2 separate regions of the Homo sapiens genome follow, and region 2 is linked to region 1. The links are contacts of gene promoters, found by promoter capture Hi-C in blood cells and fetal thymus (Javierre and others, 2016). All regions are on one chromosome and are shown on one strand. Each heading gives the region's core, a stretch centred on a gene start or on the middle of the fragment in contact. The rest is flanking DNA. Distances are from core to core; before and after follow the strand shown. Region 1 holds the start of MEI1 (meiotic double-stranded break formation protein 1). Region 2 has its middle 41 kb from the start of NFAM1.

Evidence for each region. The method cuts DNA at HindIII sites, captures the fragments that hold promoters and counts their contacts. A CHiCAGO score of 5 or more calls a contact.
Region 2: a fragment that was not itself captured here is called in contact with the fragment with the promoter of MEI1 in region 1 in 1 of 17 cell types (total B cells); the score reaches 5.1 in total B cells.

The regions. Positions count from the first base shown.
Region 1 is chr22:41,694,985-41,702,947 of GRCh38, forward strand. It overlaps MEI1 (meiotic double-stranded break formation protein 1), which reads left to right and starts at 4,519. Exons shown (of 31, transcript NM_152513.4): 1 at 4,519-4,728. The coding sequence starts at 4,555. It also overlaps the pseudogene C22orf46P. RefSeq lists enhancers at 1,809-1,888, 1,899-2,278 and a silencer at 4,492-4,591. The HindIII fragment of the contact is 5,602 bases long and covers 3,713-7,963 here.
Region 2 is chr22:42,469,096-42,477,058 of GRCh38, forward strand. No RefSeq gene overlaps it. Among named protein-coding and RNA genes, the nearest start is that of NFAM1, 41 kb to the left of the region's middle. The HindIII fragment of the contact is 2,851 bases long and covers 3,204-6,054 here.

The sequences.
Region 1 (7,963 bases), core at 3,269-5,768:
GAAACCCAGATAGCTACCAAGAAGAAGCTCAGGGAGATAAGAGAAGGATTGGGTGGTGATCCAGGCACTATGGTGGGGAAACCGGAGACAAGTAGCAAGTGAAATTTATAGAGAATTTGAGATACTATGTTGGGAGAATCAGAACTGGATTGGAGGTGAACATAGAGCAGAAATTCAGGCATCAGAGAAGAGAGACCAAAGAAAGGATGGATGTGAGGATGGCACAAATATCCTGGCACCCGAGGCTGAGATCCAGGAACAATTAAAAGGTGAAACTGATGTGGAGACTCAGAGCAATGAGCCACTTAGAGAAGAGGATGGTACAGACATTCAGTCACTAGGGAGGAGAGAGGTTAAAGGTGAGGATGATAAAGACACCCAGGAACTTGGGAGGAAAAATCAGGGTCAGTTAGGAAATGAATTTAGTGGAAAGATTCACATACCAAAGGGGAAGAATCAGGAACATATTAGAGGCGAAGATGGTGCACATACCCAGATATCTGAGTCAGGGAACTGGGGCAAATTAACAAGTCAAATTGATGGAGAAATGCATTCAGCAGAATGGAAGAAAGATCAGCAGATTGGAGGTGAGAATGGGGCAGAAATTCAGATACAAGGGAAGAGAAACCTGAGAGAAGTTGGAGGTGAGGACGGTGTAAAGACCTGGGCACCTGGGAAAGAAACCCAGAGTCAGTTTAGAAGTGATCTTGGTAGAAAGATCCTTTTATCAGAGTGGAAGAGCCAGAAGCAGATGGGAAGTGAGAATGGAACAGAAATTCAGGCTCCAGTGGAGAGAAACCAGAGAGAACCTGGAGGTGAGGACGGTGTAAAGACTCAGAGACCTAAGAGAGAGAACGAGGACCAGTTAGATAGTGAAATTGGAGGGAGCCATTCACCAGGGAGGAGGAACTGGGAGCTGATTGGAAAGGATGTTGCAGAAAATCAGGCATCAGAGAAGAGAAACCAGAGAGAGGTTGGAAACGAGGACGGTAGAATGATCTGGAGGCTTAGGGGAAAAAACTGGAGGCTTAGAGCGAAGAAACAGACTGTTAAAAAGTAAAGATAATGGAAAGACCCGTTTATCAGAGTGGAAGAACCAGGAACAGGGTGGAGGTGGGAATGATGAAGAAATTCAAATACAGGGGAAGAGAAACCTGAGAGGGACCACAGCTGATGATGGTACAGAGACCCAGGCTCCTGCAGGAGATGACCAGGGACAGTTAAGAGTTGAAATTGCTGAAGAGATCCAGGTACAAGGGCAAGGAAATAAGAATGACGGTGGAGTTGAGGATGTTGCAGAACTCCAGGATATAGGAAGCCAGAGAAAGTGCACAGATGAGGATGTTGGAGAGCCTCGAGCACCAAGGGGAGGAAACAAGGATCTGGTCAGAGGAGAGGATGCTGTGAGGGACAGTCTCCAAGTCGACTGTTCTGGGAGTGAGAGGCCCACAGGCAGGAAGCACAGCCTACCATGGCCTCCAGCCTTCACTGGCTATGGATGTGGGACCCGGGAACAGGAACAGGCAGTGGCTGTGAATGGTTTCATCTCTGCCCCCTGTCCTGAGATGAATCCTGTCCCCCACTGGGGTGAAGTCTTCCTGCTGGTGGGTGGGGAGGGAGAGCATCTGGCCAGCCAGGGCACAACCCCTGCCAGGGATCATAGAGTGGGGATCAGTCCAGCCTCCCAGCAGGCCCAACCTGAATCCTGGAGAAGACGACAAAGGGACAAAGGGGTGGATCCAGAGAAGGCCCCCAGCCTGACTCGGCAGTCCCAAAACCCTCCGTCTCTGACAGCTCCCTTGGGCATGCCCTCTGCCTGCTCCTGTCTCCCGTGTGGCCCAGCCCCGGAAGCTGCCATCATTCTAGCGGGTCCTCCCACCGCCCTCACTGTCCTGCCCAAGGGGACAGGCCTCAAGAAGAGCAAACGACTGCTCCTGGAGTCCCTCATGCGGAGGAGGATTGCACACCTGAAGTGGGGTCTTCCCCGGCGGATCCTGGAGTCCTATTTCCTGTTTAACTTCTTAGGATCTTGCTCATTGACCCTTGCTGGGGCGAGGCTCTCTGGACTGAACACAGGCCAGGAGCTCCAAGCCCAGCAGGAAAGGTATTGTGAGGCCCAAGGCTCCCCACCAGGCCTTAAGTCCCCAGAGAGGTTCCAGAGGGTTCAGCGCCCAGACAGAAAAAGCTCGAAACTTCCTATACAAGCCAGAGCTCTGGAGAGGAACAGACCGCACATGTCAGAGCCCATTAAGCATTTCCATCCAGCCTGAAAAGGCCAGGAGAGTCAGGCCACCAGGGGGCGCCAGAGAACCACAGGAGATCCAGGAAGCGCTTGCTAGGACCAAGCTCCCAGCTCCCAGGACCCCCAGGCCGGCAGCGGAGTCCAGGAGCTGGTGTGGCCCACAAAGGGTCGGAGAGCCTCCCAGTGAGAACAGTAGGGGCAGGAAAATGATCAGGTCAAGGGTCTCCCAGCTGGCAGAGAGGGCTCCCAGCAGAGTGAGGACTTCATTCTCTAGGGCAGACCACGCCCACTGGAGGAAGGAATGTACATCCTGGGAGGCCTCTAAGCTCCCCAGACTCAAATGCCAGCAGCTCACATACTGGAGAAGAGGAAGCCTGGAATCTACAGGGTGCAGAGGGGCTGGGCAGCAGCCTTCCTGCCATTCTGCAGAACCTGTCAGCTTCAAAGGGAGGCTCCACTCTGCGGTGGCAAAGCTGGGCCTGACCCTTCTGGCCAAGATGTCCTGGTCCCCACAGCTCGCCAAGCGCAAGCACTTGGCCCCTAACCTGAGCCTGAGGGAACCTGATTCTACTCTGCCTCCCAAAGTGGGTGATCCTCGTGCAGGGGAGGACAGCATCGGAGATCACACTGCTTCACAGAGGGATCTTCAGCTGCAAGGTCACTGCTGTACTGGGGCCACCCTTCCTAAGACAGAGAGTCCCCAGGGCCAGGAGGCACCTGGGAACCCAAATGGGGCTCCACAGAATACACGAGCCTCCAAAAAGTTTAGTATTATGAAGCATCTGAATTTTTTTCTCTTCCAGAATGGCTTTAAAAAGTAGACTCAGGCCCAGAGTCCTCAGGACATATCAGAAAAGCTTTGAGAGTGTCCTGATCCCTGCAAAGCCTCTAATAAATTGGTCATTTGGGCCCTGTGGTGTTCTGATTTCTCTGGCACATTTTCCAAGTGCCCCCTTTCGGGGTTTGGGATACTTTGTGGGTGGGGTAGAAGCCCCTTCCACTCTGTGGTTGTGGTTTAGGGAATGTGGGTCAACCCAGTGTCCTCTCCGAAACACCTGCCCCCCAGCTCCTCACAGTGGAGTCCACTGAGGTTCTATCCTGCTCTGTCTCCAAGCTAATCCTGATTGAGGCAGGACACTCCAAAAGCCTCAGCTGCTTATGGGGAGGGGTGGTCCTCTGCATGGGACGCTTTTTTTTTTTTTTTTGAGATGGAGTGTAGGTCTGTGGCCCAAGCTGGAGTTCAGTGGCTTGATCTCCGCTCACTGTAACCTCCGCCTCCTGGGTTCAAGCGATTCTGCTGCCTCAGCCTCCCGAGTAGCTGGGATTACAGTCATGAGCCACCACACCCAGCTAATTTTTGTATTTTTAGTAGAGGAGGGGTTTCGCCCTGTTGCTCAGGCTGGTCTTGAACTTCTTTCTCTCTGTCTTTGGTGTTTTGTTTTGTTTTTTTACTTTTATTTTTTGGTCTTAAGCTTCTGATTTATTTATTTATTTTTAAGATGGAGTCTTCCTCTGTCACCCAGGCTGGAGTGCAGTGGTGCGATCTTGGCTCACTGCAACCTCCACCTCCCAGGTTCAAGTGATTCTCCTGCCTCAGCCTCCCTCCCAAAGTGCTGTGATTACAGGCATGAGCCAACTCACCCAGCCTCTAATTGCTTTTAGATGCGAATCCTTGGGATCGCTTATTTTCCTTTTTTTTTTTTTTTTTGAGATAGAGTCTTGCTCTGTCGCCAGGCTGGAGTGCAGTGGCACAATCTCAGCTCACTGCAACCTCCGCCTCCCAGGTTCAAGTGATTCCCCTGCCTCAAGCCTCCCAAGTAGCTGGGATTACAGGCACTTGCCACCACACCCAGCTAATTTTTTGTATTTTAGTAGAGACGGGGTTTCACCATGTTGGGTAAGATGGTCTTGATCTCCAGATCTCGTGATCCGCCCACCTCGGCTTCCCAAAGTGCTGGGATTACAGGCGTGAGCCACCATGCCCGGCCTTCATTTTTAAAAAACAGTAGAAATAGCTTCCTTTCCTTCCTTTTTCAAGGCAAATGCCCCCTACTTTATAATTGCTTTTCAACTTTGGATGTGGTAAAGACATTCCTGCAGGGTTCTAAGCACAAACCGCTTTTGGCTTAGCTAGACACGATCCAGAGCACTTGCGTCCACCACTTGCCCTCAGTGGCTGCTGCTCGTCTGAGACTGCAGCGCCCTGGGTCCGCGCAGGCGCATTCCACACCGACGCAGGTCCGTCCTCCAAGTGCGCATGCGTGCAGTCTGCGCGGGAAAGAGTGCCGCCTCAGCTGAGGGCAAGCGAGGAGATGGCTGTGAGGCAGGCGGCGACGGCGGGCACTCCCGGGCCCAGGAGAGAGGAAGAGGCGGCGCTTCTATTCGAGAGGGCCCATTACCGGCACGACCCGCGCTGGCTGCTGCCCGTGACCCCCCGCCTGTGCCTGGCCTGCGCGCTGGAGCTGCTGCCGGACCCCGGCGTGTCGGTGCGGGCGGAACCTTTTCTTCAGAAGACCTGGGTTTGGCCATTTCCCTCAGCAAACGCGGCCAGGCCCTTGCCAGACCCGCTCCGGTGAACCCGACGCGAAACCGGGCCCCCGCGCTGTGTTCACTCTCCTCCCTGTCAGCCCGTCCCGGACCCGGCCGCAGCGGCCTCTCGGGCCCCTCAGCCCCAGGCCGGCCTGCGGGCCTCCGTGGAGCCCGGTCCACTGGCTCTGCGCCTGAAAGGACGGAAATCCGGATCCCCCGGGACCTCACCCAGTCTCAGGGACACACCTTCCCGCCTTCCGCCTTCTGGCTCCTTCCCTTTGCTGCCCCTGCCTCCATTTCCCGGGGATTCGGCCTTAGCTCAGGCTCCCGCCATTTCAGCCTCCCGCCATTTCAGCCTCCACTCACCTGCGGGCCAGGGGCGCATGCGGCGGCCGCTCCTCATTCCCTTCAGCTGTCGGGGTGTGAATCGGAGGAGGGGCAGTCTGGGCTCCGAGGGGACAGGAGTGACAGGTTACAGCCGGGCAGAAGTGGGGGTGAACGGGAAGACTGTTCCTTGGGCAGAGCTGGCCAAAGCGGGCTGCCTGGGTCCTCATTGCCTACCGCGTTTGCAATGAAGTGGTTTTGTTTGTTTCGAGACGGAGTCTCGCTCTGACACCCAGGCCGGAGTGCAATGGCGCCATCTCCGCTCACTGCAACCTCTGTTTCCTGGGTTCAAGCGATTCTCCTGCCTCAACCTACCCAGTAGCTGGGATTACAGGCTCCCGCCACCACGCTCGGCTAATTTCTCTATTTTTAGTAGAGACGGAGTTTCATCATGTTGGCCAGGCTGGTCTCGAACTCTTGACCTCAGGTGATCCACCCGCCTCGGCTTCCCATAGTGCTGGGATTATAGGCGTGAGCCACGGTGCCCGACCTGCAGTGAGTTTTCTTGTCCATGGAGGCATCCAAGAAGACTTTGGGAGGTCAAGTTTCTCTCCAATTCATGGGAGGGGAATTCGTGAGTGGGTGGATTGGCTAGATCAGCAGTTCTCAATTTTTTTTTTTTTTTTTTTTTTTTTTGTAGAAACGGTCCCGGGGGTCTCCCTGTGTTGCCCAGGCTGGTCTTGAACTCCTAGTCTCAAGCAATTCTCCTGCCTTGACCTCCCAAAGTCCAAAGTGTTGGGATTGCATCTGTGAGCCACCGTGCCTGGCTGCGTTCTCAAATATTTTGATTTCTTTCTTTCTTTTTTTTTTTTTTTTTGAGATGGAGTTTCACTCTTGTTGCCCAGGCTGGAGTGCAATGGCGCAATCTCAGCTCACCGCAACCTCCGCCTCCCGGGTTCAAGCGATTCTCCTGCCTCAGCCTTCCGAGTAGCTGGGATTACATGCATGCGTCACTACGCCCAGCTAATTTTGTATTTTTAGTATAGACGGGGTTTCTCCATGTTGGTCAGGTTGGTGTTGAACTCCCAACCTCAGGTGATCTGCCTGCCTCAGCCTCCCAAAGTGTTGGGATTAAAGACGTGAGCCACCACACCCGGCCAAACAGCTGGATTTTTATCTATTTCTGCATTCAGTCTGTTGTGCTATCATGTCATATAGTCTCAAAAACTCCACTGTACACTTGTGGGAGAATAAGAATGAGAAAGACTGGGCCGGGTCCGGTGGCTCACACCTGTAATCCCAGCACTTTGGGAGGCCGAGGTGGTTGGATCACGAGGCCAGAAGTTCAAGACCAGCCTGGCCAACATGGAAAAAATTTAAAAAAAAATGAGGAAGACTAAGAACATTTTAATATTATATGAAAATATTTTTGTTCTTGTGGACCTCTGGGAAGTGTTTTAGGCACCCTTAGGAATTCCCACACTGTGCTCTGGGAACTCGTAAACTAGCTAATAACCTCTGAATTTTCATTAAGGATGGAAATTCTGAGGCTGCTTTTCTTGGACAGTAAATCAGAGATGAATAAGACAGTGCAGCGGGGAGAAATAAGAGAACATGTTAGAACTTAGAAGAATGAACATGTTTGTAGTCAAGTGCTGTTCAGGGTAAGGAGAGGAATTAGGAAAGGTTTCTTAGAGGAGGAAGCATTCAAATTAGGTTTAAGAAGATGGGTGAGATTTGGACCAGAGGAAGTGGGAGGCTGATTATCCCAGGAGGTAGGTATTATAAGGATGGGTTTTGGGGATAATCAGAGTGTTTGAAGGGAAAGTGAAAGAGATGAGATTGGAGAGACAGGTTGAGGACAGTTACTTGAAGAGTTTGAAACCCAGCTAAGGAGCTTGAACATAATCTGTCAGATGAAGGAGAGTTACTAGGATTTTTTGAGTAGCTCATATAGATCACTACCTTAATCTATTACGTAGGATGAATTGGTGAAGGAAAAACAGGAGCCTTACAGTAGCACAGATGAGAAGCAATAAGAGATGCAACTTCTACCTTTTATTGAGCACACTTTTCTTTTGAGATGGTTTCGCTCTCGTTGCCCAGGCTGGAGTGCAATGGCGCAATCTTGGCTCACTGCAACCTCTGCCTCCCAGGTTCAAGCGATTCTTCTGCCTCAGCCTTCTGAGTAGCTGGGATTACAGGCGCCTGCCACCATGCACGGCTAATTTTTGTATTTTTAGTAGAGAAGAGGTTTCACCATGTTGGCCAGGCTGGTCTCGAATGCCTGACCTCAGGTGAGCCACCCACATTGGCCTCCCAAAGTTGGGATTACAGGTGTGAGCCACTGCACCCGGCTTGAACACACTTTTTTTCTTTTTTTTTTTTTGAGACAGTTTTCCTCTTGTCCAGGCTGTAGTGCAATGGCGCGATCTTGGCTCACCGCAACCTCCCCTCCCAGATTCAAGTGATTCTCCTGCCTCAGCCTCCCAATTAGCTGGGGATATAGGCATGCGCCACCACGCCTAGCTAATTTTGTATTCTTAGTAGAAACCGGGTTTCTCCATGTTGGTCAGGCCAGTCTCGAACTCCCAACCTCAGGTGATCTGCCTGCTTCGGCCTCCCAAAATGTTGGGATTACAGGCGTGAGCCACCATGCCCGGCCTCTGAACACACTTTTCTTTTCTTTTTTTTTTGAGACAAAATCTTGCTCTTGTCCCCCAGGCTGGAATGCAGTGGCGCTATCTCGGCTCACTGCAACCTCCGCCTCCCTGGGTTTACAGGCACCTGCCACCATGCCCGAGTAATTTTTTTATTTTTAGTTGAGATAGAGTTGCACCATGTTGGCCATGCTGGTCTGGAACTCTT
Region 2 (7,963 bases), core at 3,379-5,878, 770 kb after region 1:
CCAGCACCCCCTTGGTGATTAGTCATTGCCTGGGAGCAACTGGGGTCAGGTCCCTTTGAAGGGGAATCTGAGCGGTGTAAGTCCATGGCCACCACATGTAATATTACAGTAGAAAGTCATAATCTGCATCCTATCCATCTCTCAGGAATTGACAGACCAAGCAGGCAAAAATGGAGATATTCTCCTAAAGATGAATGGGCAATAAGAGACTCCTATACCCAAGAATTAGAGACTATATCTTTCCAAGCACACATAGTACTTTTACAAAAATTGTACATGTTGTCTTTGAAGAAATAATTTTAAGACTGAAATGAAAAAAAAAGTTTTTTTAGACTGCATGTGTAGCAGGTCGCAGTGTCATGCTCAACACGTACAATAAATTGGTATTTGGCTACAATGCAATCAGGTTAGAAAGACATTATAAAATGATTTTCTAAACCCGTATGTTTTAAAATTTAAATTCATGGATTGCCTAACATAAAAGTTAAAGAAGATATCATAAGGGAAATCAGAAAATATTTAGAACTGAAAGATAATTAAGTCACTGTGTGATAAATCTCGAAGAATATCACTAAAGGAGTATGCAGAGGGAAATTTACAGCCTTAACTGCGCACATTAGAAAAGAAGAAGATTCAGCCAGGCCTGGTGGCTTATGCCTGTGATCCCAACACTTTAGGAGGCCAAGATAGGTAGACTGCTTGAGCTTGGGAGTTCAAGGCCAGACTGAGCAACATGGTGAAACCCCATCTTTACAAAAATTAGCCGGGCGTGGTGGTGGACACCTGTAGTCCCAGCGACTTGGGAGGCTGAGACAGGAAGATCATTTGAGCCCAGGAGGTTGAGGCTGCAGTGCGCTGTGTTTGTGCCACTGCACTCTAGCCTGGGCGGCATGACAGAGTGAGACCCTGTCTCAAAAAAAAAAAAAAAAAAAAAGGCTGGGCGCAGTGGCTCACACCTGTAATCCCAGCAATTGGGGAGGCCAAAGTGGGTGGATCACTTGAGGTCAGGAGTTCAAGACCAGCCTGGCCAACCTGGTGAAACCCCGTCTCTACTAAAAATACAAAAATTAGCCAGGTGTGGTGGCACTTGCCTGTAATCCCAGCTACTCGGGAGGCTGAGGCAGGAGAATGGCTTGAACCTGGGAGGCGGAGGTTGCAGTGAGCTGAGATCACGCCACTGCACTCCAGCCTGGGTGACAGAATGAAACTGTATCTCAAAAAAAAAAAAAAAAGAATAAGAAGATTCCCAATTCATGAGCTAAGTGTCCAACTCTAAAAGTAAGAAAAAGAGTAGAATAAAACAACAAAAACAAAAGTAGAAGGAATGAAACAAGAAAATCATAAAGATAAAAACAGAAATTAATCAAAGAAAAAAATGAATAGAGGATACACAAAACTGCAGCTGGATCTTTAAGACTCATGAAAAAGGCAGACCTCTGGCAACAGCAGCAGAGCAAATGCAAGAGAAAGCACAGGCTTGTTAGGAATTAACCCAAGGAACTGAACACAGCTAAAGTAGAGAGCCAGAAATAACGATAGCTCACATTTATGAGTCAGTTTCATGCCTCATTCTATAATGCAATATGTATTTACAGTTTAGGTTAAAATACAAATCCTTTCTACAGAATCCTCTGCTTATGTATATTAATAGTCATGGGCTAGCATTTACCCAGAACTTACTAGGAGCCATTCCCTGCTCTCGTTAGGAACTCTCTTGCCTCTATACCTTTGATTAGGCTGTTTTCTCAGCTCCAAATGCCCTTCCTCTCCTTTGCAACCTGTGAGGTTTGGCTAAAATGTAACCTCCTTTGGCTGTTACTGCCAAGAGCACAGCCAGTATCCATTCTGCCCCACTTCCTTAAGAATAGAACCACGATTTTGTTCTAATATGGTCCTTTTAAAATGACTACAACTATCGTATTATATTCCCAGCTCCCTCTGTATCTCAGGGTGGCCAAGTGACACAGTTTTGGACAATGAGATACAGGCTGAAGTTTGCTAGGTTTATTAATTATCGATGCATATCAAAGTATCCCAAAACTTAGTGGTTTAAAGCAATGGATGCTTTTATTATCTCACGATTTTTGTGGGTCAAGAATTTGGGAGTGGCTTATCTGGGTGGTTCTGGTTCAAGATCTTAATGAGGTTGCAGTCAAGGTGTCCACTGGGGCTGCAGTCATCCGAAGGCTTGACTAGATCTGGAGGATCTTCTTCCAAGGAGGTTTACTCATGTGGCTGTTGGCAAGAAGTCTCCTGTTGTCTGGATGCAAGTCATGGTACATGTAAGACGCTTTAAGAGTTTTTATTGTTGGCATCAAGGAAAAAAGTATGACCTCTTCCTTTGCCTATCTCCAATCCCTTTTATCCCCATTTTATTTTTGATCTATCCACCCATGTACTCATCCACTACCCATCTACCCACCCATCCATCCACCCACCCATCCATCCATCCACTCACCCATCCAGCCAACAACTCACTCATCCACCCATCCACTCATCCACCAACCTTTCACCCACCTACCCACCTATCCACTTACCCACCCACCCATCCTTTCACCCATCCACCCATCCATCCACCCACACACATATCCATCCATCCATCCATCCATCCATCCACCATCCACCCACCCATCCACACACTCATCCACCTATCCATCTATCCAATAGTTTCTGGGAGCGTATAAAGTGCCAGGCACAATATTTAGGCACTTGACATAAAAAGTGAGTAAGATTTGTGCCCTTCCTTTAAGTAATTCCTCTCTATTTAGGATGACAGATATGGAACAATTCTAGTACATTTGTGATAAGTGCTATGCTACAAGTAAAAGAGGGATACTATCTTTTTTTTTTTTTTCGAGACAGGGTTTCACTCTGTAACCCAGGCGGGAGTGCAGTGGTGCAATCTTGGCTCACTGCAACCTCCATCTCCTGGGTTCAAGCGATTCTCGTGCCTCAGCCTCCCGAGTAGCTGGGATTACAGGTGTGTGCCACCATGCCAGGCTCTTTTTTTTTTTTTTCTTTTTGGTATTTTTAGTAGAGACAGGGTTTCACTATGTTGGCCAGACTGGCCTCGAACTCCTGACCTCAAATGACCTGCCCACCTCAGCCTCCCAAAGTGCTGGGATTACAGGCATGAGCCACCGCACCTGGCCAGATACTATCTTAGATGTATTAATATTTTTTCCTTCTCTTATTCAGTCAGAAGCTTCTGTTGGCCTCAAGGATAATTATGATTTTCATAGTAGGTAGGTGATGAGAAAGAAAGACGCTTTCACTTTTAAGTATTAAGACTGACTCCAAGTGCATGTGATTCGGTAGTCTTGAAACTGAGCTTTCAGAGAAAAAAGAGATTTTCTAAATTCCAAAGGCTCTGCTTTAAGACGTAAATAACAGAATCCTGGACTTGGATTATAAGCAGTGCACAGGGTCTGAAGGTGTGACTTAGGGAAGTTCCCATCAGTAGGAAGACACAGGAGATCAGATGTCAGCGTCCTGATTCCCTCCTCGGGGTTAACACAGTGGTAGCAAGGCCTGCGGTGAGCATGGCAGCAGAACGACAGGGGCTGCTCAGGCATGCTTTGGAAATGGCCAGGAAAGGGTCTAGGACAGTGGCCTGGAAGGCAGCCTCACAGATCTAGTGTGAGGCTACACCCAGCCTACACTCTCTAGTGTGGAGTGGGAAAAGCAGCCCAGGCCCTGATGAATCAAAAGACTGAGATTGGGGTACAGAGGCCAGGCTGGGAGCCCTGGGCTGGAGGTTGAGAATAATGCATGATGGTATCGCCTCGTGGACACCAGGACGGAAGGTCCAGGAACCGCCCTGGCCATGGCTGAGAGGCAGGAGCCAGGAGGGTGCCCTAGTTACCCCGCACCCTAGCAGCATCTCAGAAAGGAGCAGGGAGAGACACTTGATCGGAACTTGAACCTGAACTTGAACTTTAATCTTGACGCGTTAATGAGGAAGGGAGTTTTGGAAGACTGAAGAGGCTGAGTTAGCTCTGATGAGCATGTTCCTGGTGTTATTTCCTTTCTCTCTTTTGCCGTGAGCAAGAGTGGGGACTTGCGAGCTCAAGGGAATCAGTTATAGACCATTTTTAGTTCTATTTCTGTGCACATCTGCCTGCATACAGCATAAAGATTTTTACCCTGGTTGAGGCGTGCACGGGATGCTGGGATTACAGGCGTGAGCCACCGTACCCACCTGACCCTAAATTATTTTTGGTTCCTCCAATCCAACTTTCTTCCATAGAATACTAAGAATGGGAATTGCTCTGTTCCTAAGGCACTATAAGCTGAAACTAAATGAATTTTAAGGGATGAGTCTTGTGTGTGATCTATGGACCATATAGAAAGTTCACTGGACTGCCTCATGCCATGAGCAGAGACAGTCTAACTGTAAACCAGGACAAGCAGTTGATGGCTTCATGCTGTGGGTGGCTTTTCCCAAGACAACAGAACAAGAGTCCCCATCATGAGCCTCTTGTCCCTCTTAATTCTTCCCTGCTTATGCCAATTTTTTCCACTTGGCAGGATAATGATGCAACTGAAACTTCCCAATCAGTAGCTTCTGCTGGTAACTTGACAGAACCTGACCTAAGAGATCCTTTAGGCCACCTAGTGGGTAACTTTGGCAACATCCCTAATAGAACTGTTGTTCACTCGGCTTTAATGCATCCCAGTTGTGGGATACTAGATGATGAATTTGCTCTATATTATTTATTGGTTGGATAAGGAAATGTCTGTGCTATTGCTAATACTACATGCCACACCTGGATAAATTTCTTTGGGGAAGTTGAGACCCAAATACACAAAATAAGAAAACAAGTCACTTGGTTACAACAGGTCTCATCTAATTCTCCATGGTCATTCGATTTATTCAATGTATTCCCTTTAAGTCTAGGTTCATAGCTCAAAACCATTATGCAAACTAGGGTTACCATTTTTATTTATTTATTTATTATTTATTTATTTATTTATTTATTTATTTATTTATTTATTTTTGAGACAGAGTTGCGTGCTGTCACCCAGACTGGAGTGTAGTGACACGATCTCAGCTCACTGCAACCTCCGCCTCCTGGGTGTGAATCCTCCTGCCTCAGCCTCCCGAGAAGCTGGGACTACAGGCATGCACCACCACGTCCAGCTAATTTTTTTTTTTTTTTTGAGCCGGAGTCTTGCTCTATCACCCAGGCTGGAGTGCAGTGGCTATATCTCGGCTCACTGCAAGCTCTGCCTCCTGGGTTCACGCCATTCTCCTGCCTCAGCCTCCCGAGTAGCTGGGACTACAGGTGCCTGCCACCATGCCCAGCTAATTTTTTGTATTTTTTTTTTTTTTAGTGGAGATGGGGTTTCACCGTGTTAGCCAGGATGGTCTTGATCTCCTAACCTCGTGATCTGCCCTCCTCAGCCTCCCAAAGTGCTGGGATTACAGGCGTGAGCCACCGCGCCCAGCCACGTCCAGCTAATTTTTTGTAGAGACAGGATTTCACCATGTTGCCCAGGCTGGTCTCAAACTCCTGGGCTCAAGAGATCCACCCACTTCAGACTCCCAAAGTGCTGGGATTACAGGTGTGAGCCACTGCACCTGGCTATCCCTTCTCTTAGAAGGATGAATCAGTCTATTCAGTAAATTTAAAAGGTGACTGGGGCTGGGCGTGGTGGTTCACATCTGTAATTCCAGCACTGTGGGAGGCCGAGGCAGGTGGATCACCTGAGGTCAGGAGTTCGAGACCAGTATGACCAACACGGTGAAACCCCATCTCTACTAATAATACAAAAATTAGCCAGGTGTGGTGGTGCACAACTGTAATCCCAGCTACTCTGGAGGCTGACGCAGGAGAATCACTTGAACCCAGGAAGTGGAGGTTGCAGTGAGCCGAGATCGCACCAGTCACTCCAATAGAGTGAGACTCTGTCTCAAAAAAAAAAAGAAAAAGTGACCTTATGAATGGGTAACAATTGCCTGTGTCTTACAGCCAGATCTCAAACAACTTCGTGAACAAATCTACAAGAATCACACATTGTTAAAACACAGCCATCTCACACACAGAATCAAGCTTGTGTTTGACAATGGCATGGAAATCACACTAATTATGATGACCTAGGCTGGGAGAGAAAACCAGTGCACCTGCACTATCTGATCCCAGCCTCCCTCTGAGCCTCACCTGGGGTCACTCTTCCCCTTAGTGTGCTGTAGCCACTCTAGATCCCACCTGCTCCTAAACACACCCATCTCTTCTCTGCCCCGGGGCCTTTGCACGTGGCACTCCCTCTGCCTGAGAAGCTGCCACTTGATGTTGTCAGCTCCTTCTTATGCTTCAGATCTTCCTTTCAATGCCAGCTACTCACAGAAGCCCTCCCTGACCACCCTGTTCAAAGTAGCATCCTCACTGTGGTAGCAGGATGATGCCTCCCCCAAGATGTCCATGTCCTAATCCCTGGTACCTGTGAATATGTTATGTTACGTGGCAAGAGGGAATGAAGGTTGAAGATGAAATGAAGTTTGCTAATTAGCTGACTTTGTTTTATTATATTTTAGTTTTTTTGTGAAGGAGTCTCACTCTGTCGCCCAGACTGGAGTGCAGTAGTGCAATCTCAGCTCACTGCAACCTCTGCCTCCCAGGTTCAAGCAATTCTCCTGCCTCAGCCTCCTGAGTAGCTAGGGTTACAGGTGCCCGCCACCAGGCCTGGCTAATTTTTGTATTTTTTGGTAGAGATGGGGTTTCGCCATGTTGGCCAGGCTGGTCTCAAACTCCTGACCTCAGGTGATCCCCTGCTACCTCGGCCTCCCAAAGTACTGGGATTACAAGCGTGAGCCACTGTGCCCTGCCGAGAGCCCCCTTTAAATCATCAGGCCCAGAGAGGCATTGAAATGTGATGGCAGTTACAAGCCCCCTCCCCCACCCGCCCCTAAAGCCACCTGCTATTGGGACCCTAGACTGACTATCAACACCAACAGCCATAAATTAACCTAACCATGCCATTCGCTGGATACCATAACTCATACTCTAATCAATGTGATTTCAATAAACCAATGAGAATTCCTGTAACATAACTTCTGTAATCGCTTCTCTCCTGTTTCATACTTTTTTTTTTTTCCTTGAGACAGGTTCCTGCTCTATGGCCCAGGCTAAAGTGCAGTGATGTGATTGTGGCTCACTGCAGCCCCCATCTCCCAGGCTCAAGCGATCTTCCTGCCTCAGCCTCCCAAGTAGCTGGGACTACAGGCACACACCACCATGCCCGGCTGATTTTTTTTAAATAGAGATAGGGATCTCACTATGTTGCCCAGGCTGGTCTCCAGCTCCTGAGTTCTAGCAATCCTCCCACCTCAGCCTCCCAAAACTTCTGGGATTATAGGTGTGAGCCACTGTGCTCAGCCTGATTCATCCTTTTTCCTTTCCTTCTTTTTTTTTTTTCAAGACAGAGTTTCACTCTTGTCCCCCAGGCTGGAGTGCAATGGCGTAATCTTGGCTAACTACAACCTCCGCTTCCCAGGTTGAAGCAATTCTCCTGCCTCAGCCTCCTGAGTAGATGGGATTACAGGCACGTGCCACCATGCCCAGCTAATTTTTGTATTTTTAGTAGAGACAGGGTTTCACCATGTTTGGCCAGGCTGGTCTTGAACTCCTGATCTCAAGTGATCCACCCACCTCGGCCTCCCAAAATGCTAGGATTACAGGCGTGAGGCACCACGTCCAGCCCGATCCTTTTTTCTTTAAAAACTCCAGTCTCTCCTTTGTTCTCCAGGGCACTTCCCAGTGTGTCTGAGGCCGTAGTCCTCAGCTTTGGCCCAAAATAAACTCTCTACCTATGTTAATTTGACCTCAGTTTCTTTAGGTTGATGCATCCAAACCAGGGCCATTCAGGAGTGAAAGTGGCACTATTAAGAACTATGCTGGGCCAAGCGTGGTGGCTCTCACCTGTAATCCCAGAACTTTGGGAGGCCGAGGAGGGCAGATCA